Linked DNA regions of Homo sapiens: region 1 is linked to region 2. Evidence: promoter capture Hi-C in 16 types of primary human blood cells and fetal thymus (Javierre and others, 2016). All regions are on one chromosome and are shown on one strand. Each heading gives the region's core, a stretch centred on a gene start or on the middle of the fragment in contact. The rest is flanking DNA. Distances are from core to core; before and after follow the strand shown. Region 1 has its middle 75 kb from the start of ZSWIM2. Region 2 holds the start of CALCRL (calcitonin receptor like receptor).

The links. The method cuts DNA at HindIII sites, captures the fragments that hold promoters and counts their contacts. A CHiCAGO score of 5 or more calls a contact.
Region 1: a fragment that was not itself captured here is called in contact with the fragment with the promoter of CALCRL in region 2 in 4 of 17 cell types (megakaryocytes, erythroblasts, M0 macrophages and 1 more); the score reaches 8.1 in megakaryocytes.

What each region holds. Positions count from the first base shown.
Region 1 is chr2:186,922,807-186,925,703 of GRCh38, forward strand. No RefSeq gene overlaps it. Among named protein-coding and RNA genes, the nearest start is that of ZSWIM2, 75 kb to the left of the region's middle. The HindIII fragment of the contact is 8,964 bases long and covers 1-2,897 here.
Region 2 is chr2:187,446,718-187,449,847 of GRCh38, forward strand. It overlaps CALCRL (calcitonin receptor like receptor), which reads right to left and starts at 1,535. Exons shown (of 15, transcript NM_005795.6): 1 at 1,322-1,535. All of the region lies in intron 2 of CALCRL-AS1 (CALCRL and TFPI antisense RNA 1), which reads left to right. The HindIII fragment of the contact is 1,657 bases long and covers 1,431-3,087 here.

The DNA of each region.
Region 1 (2,897 bases), core at 263-2,762, 520 kb before region 2:
ATACCATTTGACCCAGCCATCCCATTACTGGGTATATACCCAAAGGACTATAAATCATGCTGCTATAAAGACACATGCACATGTATGTTTATTGTGGCATTATTCACAATAGCAAAGACTTGGAACCAACCCAAATGTCCAACAATGATAGACTGGATTAAGAAAATGTGGCACATATACACCATGGAATACTATGCAGCCATAAAAAATGATGAGTTCATGTCCTTTGTAGGGACATGGATGAAAGTGGAAATCATCATTCTCAGTAAACTATCGCAAGAACAAAAAACCAAACACCGCATATTCTCACTCATAGGTGGGAATTGAACAATGAGATCACATGGACACAGGAAGGGGAATATCACACTCTGGGGACTGTTGTGGGGTGGGGGGAGAGGGGGAGGGGTAGCATCGGGAGATATACCTAATGCTAGATGATGAGTTAGTGGGTGCAGCGCACCAGCATGGCACATGCATACATATGTAACTAACCTGCACAATGTGCACATGTACCCTAAAACTTAAAGTATAATAAAAAATAAAAAAAAAAAGACCCAGCAAAACAGCCCAATTAAAAACTCTATGTTGGCCCAGCATGGAGGCTCACGCCTGTAATCCCAGCACTTTGGGATGCCGAGGCAGGTGGATCACGAGGTCAGGAGATCAAGACCATCCTGGCTAGCACGGTGAAACCCTGTCTCCACTAAAAACACACACACACAAAATTAGCCGGGCGTGGTGGTGGGCACCTGTAGTCCTAGCTACTCGGGAGGCTGAGGCAGAAGAATGGTGTGAACCCGGGAGGCAGAGCTTGCAGTGAGCCAAGAGTGCGCCACTGCAATCCAGCCTGGGTGACAGAGCGAGACTCCATCTCAAAAACAAAAACAAAAACAAAAAAAACCACAACCCTATGTTCGCCATCGTAAGGCACTGCTTTAGGAACTATCCTGGGCATCCTCCTTACAAGTAGTGAATCCCCTTGTGAAATCCACCCTGGTTGTGGTCATTGGACTGTCAGTTGCCAAGTGATGGAACCCACTGGTTGTGTGTGTCCAAGAATTTTATAATAAATCATAAATTTTCAAGCCTAGGTCTGTCTGATTACAAAGTTTAAGCAAGTGATTTTCAAACTGTAGTGCATGTCAAAATCATCTGAAGGGCTTGAGGAAACAAACAAACAAACAAACAGAAAACAGATTTCATGGCAACCCATCCCTAGCAGGTGTTACTGGGGTCTTAGAATCTGAATTTTAATAAGTACACCAAGTGTTTCTGATGTTGATGGCTCACTGAGCATACTTTAAAAATTATTGACTGCTCTTATTTTTCATGTTATACTACTGATTACTATTCTACATAGCTTTTTTGATTTTTATTTGTACTACAATTTAACTTTTCATTAAAATATTGTGTGTGAGTGTGTCTATTATATTGTAAGTAGGCTTTAACTGCTACAATTGTCATATACTTATTTTTGTATATTCTGTAGAACCCAATGCCTATCCTTGAAATATTGGGGCCTCCTAAATATTTGAACTGAATTGATACAAGGCAAGAAATCATAATTTCCAGATGTTTGCTGTTTAGTAGACCTATGTACCTGAAATCTGAGTATTGCAATGGCAGAAAGTAGTGAGGGTACATTTTTGGATGGACCTGTCTTGGTAAGGAGGTGAGACTCACAAAGCAGATTAGCAGTATGAAGATTATATATATATGTATACATATATATATATGAAAGTAAATATGAATAGAGTATAATGGCTTTGTTTTAAAATGAGCTAAAATTGGAAAATTTGGAATAGAGGGTTCTTGATAGAGGACTTTCAATGCTAGGGTATGGAATAAACACTTTATCTTAAAAGCCAAAGGTTGCTACTACAGGTTCTTGAGCAAGGAAATGAAAAGCTGAGAGCAGTGTGAGAGATTATGTTACTAAACTTCTGCAGTATTAAAAGCAAGGTGAAAGAAACAAAACTGTTACAATAATTTAAGAAATAGATGATAAAAACATGGAATATAATGATGTTTAGAAAAACATCTTCAAATTTGGGGTAGTAGGTAAAAGATTTGTCAGGACTTTGGTATATTATCTTTCAACTAAACACTTTTTTTTTAAGTTGAAAGGCAATTTAGACCCTCAACTCATCTCTCAATTTTAAGATTTTTAAAGAGGTAATTATGAAGCATATATAATTAACTAGCCATGGTGCTAGATAATATTGATTCAAAGATTAATAAAATACAGTTCCTGCATTTAAGAAGTTTACAAGTTGGGGGCTGGGCATGGTGGCTCACAACTGTAATCCCAGCACTTTGGGAGGCCGAGTCGGGTGGACCACTTGAGGTCAGGAGTTTGAGACCAGCCTGGCCAACATGGCGAAACCCCGTCTCTACTAAAAATATAAAAATTAGCTGGGCATGGTGGTGGGTGCCTGTAATTCCAGTTATTCAGGAAGCCGAGGCAGGAAAATCGCTTGAACCGGGGAGGTGGAGTTTGCAGGGAGCCAAGATGGTGCCACTGCACTCGAGCCTGGGCAACAGAATGAGACCCTGTCTCAAAAAAAAAAAAAAAAAAGTTCACAAATTGGAAGGAGTCAGACATTCTTAAGACATTGTGCATTATATATGTTTAACAGAGAAAATGAGCTAATTAACTAGACTCACATAAAAGAATTATCTCAAAAATGATATATTTTCAATTACTTATATGTAAAACATTTTGTCAAATTACTATTTATAAATTTATAGTCATTTGTATGCTTCAAAATGTTTTGAAATATACAATTTAATTATATATTAGTGGGTTTCATAGGCAAGAAAGAGGGAAGTAGCTCCCTGTACAGAGACAGAAGGAAGTGGGCCCCAAGCAGAGAGAGGGATCCCCAAGTGTGGGG
Region 2 (3,130 bases), core at 285-2,784:
CAGTACAACTGAAGATTGAAAAGAGAGAGAAATCAGCCATGATACTCTTAAAGAATCACAAATCTAAGAATTAATTTAAATTTTCATTATATTGAGGAATTTGTGGAAAAATTGAGTTGTAAATTACTGAGGAGTTACTCAGGATGTTTGTAGTCTATTATTAATGTGCCAGATATAAGTGATTAAGTACAGGATGCTTCCAATGCAGGACATCTTGGAAAGTATAATTGCATTTAGGTAAGAAAATATATAACTTAAAAATCATATCTATCAACATCATTTAAAATTTGACATCAAACTTTCTCCAGCAACAAATTTGTGATATATCTACACAAACAATTTATTAAGCAGACATTAGTTTCTTAAATTGTTCAGGACAGTCTGTACTATCGGAATGAGCATTAACAGATGTTTTATCCAACATTTCAGTAAGTTCCATCCTGGAAATTCTTTTTTAATAAATACTTTAATTTCTTTGTTTAATCGTCTAATATACTTCTTTGGGAAAGCTGTCACGTTTCTTTATCCACAGATATCGTGGTATCACACCCCCCTCCAAAAGCTTGCAGAGGGGAACCAGTCAAGTTGAAGTATTCTCTTAAAGATTTCAAAATTAAGAATTGTTTTAAAAATCTACATTTCCTAAACTCTAGGTTTTTTTTTTTCTTTGTAGCCGACACCATGATCCAAATAAAGAGCAAACAGTTCAGGGTTAGCAGAAGAGAGATTTAAACACATCTGGCAACAATGAACACAAAAATTAGTTCAGTAGTTACAGATATATGTGTAAATAAAGGTGAAAGGCAAATAAAAGCAAATGTAATAAATACAAAGTGATTACTTTTCAAAACTCTGCATTATGATCAACCACAGAGTAAGTGAGACTCCGAGACCCATTAAGTAGTTATTCTTTCACCTCTTTCTTACAGCTGATAACATGGAAAGTTTAAAGACCCTTCCGGGGGGAGAAATGTTTTCCAGTTGTCAAGATTCAAGCTTAGCTAATATTAGAGCTAATTTTAAAAGACATTGTTCTGTGATTAAGGTATTTGTTCAGAAATATGTCTTTTAATCCATTTAGATTTTTAATACTTGCTAAATTTATTTTCTAGAATACCATGGTAAACAATATTATCTAGTAGTATTAGATTTTGTATTCATGTTGGGGTAGTAGGCTGTATTTTCTCTAGCATGTGAAATAAGTGAGACTATGTTTCAACATTATTTCAGTGCTATCTACTAAATTCTATAATAGAAACATTGCCAAACTATATGAGAATACTACTTAGAATAAATATATTTATTTTGAATGTGCACTTACCCAGTCCAGCTCTTAAGGAAATTCTTTGTGAAATATTCTCAGGATGGAACTTTACTTTCTGAGATTCCGCAGAAGAGATTTACCCACAAGCAAGGTGGGAAAGAGTGAAAGCTTTGCAATGTGATCCTGCAATTAGGATGAGATTCAGTTAGCAGAGCTTGATGGTCCTAAAGCAGGAGGTGACACTCTCTGCTGGAGAGAGAGAGGTTGTTCTGAGTAGATTGTAAGTGTTGTCAGATTGTAAGTGATCAGCAGCAGAAGGGAAACATCAGAGCTTCCTGTTACATCACTCTGACCCCGCCTGCAGTTAGTGTTAGGTTACTTTCTTTCTCAAATAGCATACCCCAGGAAAGCAGCACTCCTTTCTTATTGTGAGACAAGAGCAAGAAGCAGCCTGAACAGAGAGAGATCATAGGCTGTGTGAATACATTGTTACCAGTAAAAAGCTGGCTGGCTTTCACCTTGACTGAGTTCTGTTAGAACTTGCCAAACAAGCTACTTGTGATTTGAAGGAAATCTGAATATAGTATTCTGCTCAAAGAATCAAAGGAGTTAGGCGTGTGTGTGTGTGTGTGTGTGTGTGTGTGTGTGTGTGTGTTGAATTATAGCTTACAAAGTATCCAGGAAAAAAAATCTAACAAATCTGTGTTCATAGCACAACACAGAAAAAAAAATTAACTGTATTCATCATAACTGGTTTTGTGATTTGGCTCTTCTTAATTTGGAGCTCTGCTAATTGGGTGCTGTTCCTCCATCAGTTCCTAAGTGCAGTTCCTAATCAGTTAATTAGATCAAGAAACTTTATCCTGCAGTTTTTAAATCTTTTATTTTTTCCTTTACCTTCTTCATAAGAACATGAGTGTATGTGTTATAAATTCAGGTTGTGTATGTGTGTGTATAGAGTGTTTCTTTTATAATATATAAGTATATATATTTGACAAAATAGCCTTTTGAATAATTCATAATTTTAAAATTATTGCACACATTTAAAAATATTTGGTATAATTATGTTATTTATAATATAAAATAATTTATACCACAATATTTGTAAGTCAATATAATCTTAAAGAAAATATAGATGTTGTAAACATAATATTATAAAATAATATAAATACAAAGGATACTTTATTTCTTAGACAAAATTTCATCTCAAAGCATAGTTTTTCCTGAATATGTTTAATACATCATTGGATATGATCAGGGGAAAATGTAAATTTAAAATGCTTTTATCATTTTTATAATTTGGTAAATGTTCGATATGAAGCAATAATTATAATCCCTATAACCTAAACAGCACTAAAAGTCACTTAATTTATCAGGGCATAAATTTTCTCATCTATAAACTAGAAGAGATAGATTTTATGTCTAAGGCTTTGAATCGACAAATTTCATAACATTTTGAAATAGATAAGATACGGTGAGGATCATTCAACTCTTAGTAAATTGTTAGTGCAATTCCAGGATAAAATGAGGTGCCATACACCTTGTAGGCAGACAAAGGAGGTAAAGGCAAAATAAATTCAGGAATATCATGTTTTTAAAGCAGGGTGCTCATGTTGACATTTTTATTGTCTGAATTAGTGGAAGAAAATGTTTATACAATCTTTGATTTTAAGACCAGTGAGATCAATATTGATTACAAAATACAGACATATAAAAAATAGATATACTTTCATCTCTATAATTATGGTTAATAGAAAAGACTTGTAAGAAACTGAGTTACACTGGTGAACCGGTTCTGATACTGTCTGGTGTGATCTTGACAAAGCTTTTTAGGCTTCATGTTCCCATCTTGAAATTCAGAGAAAA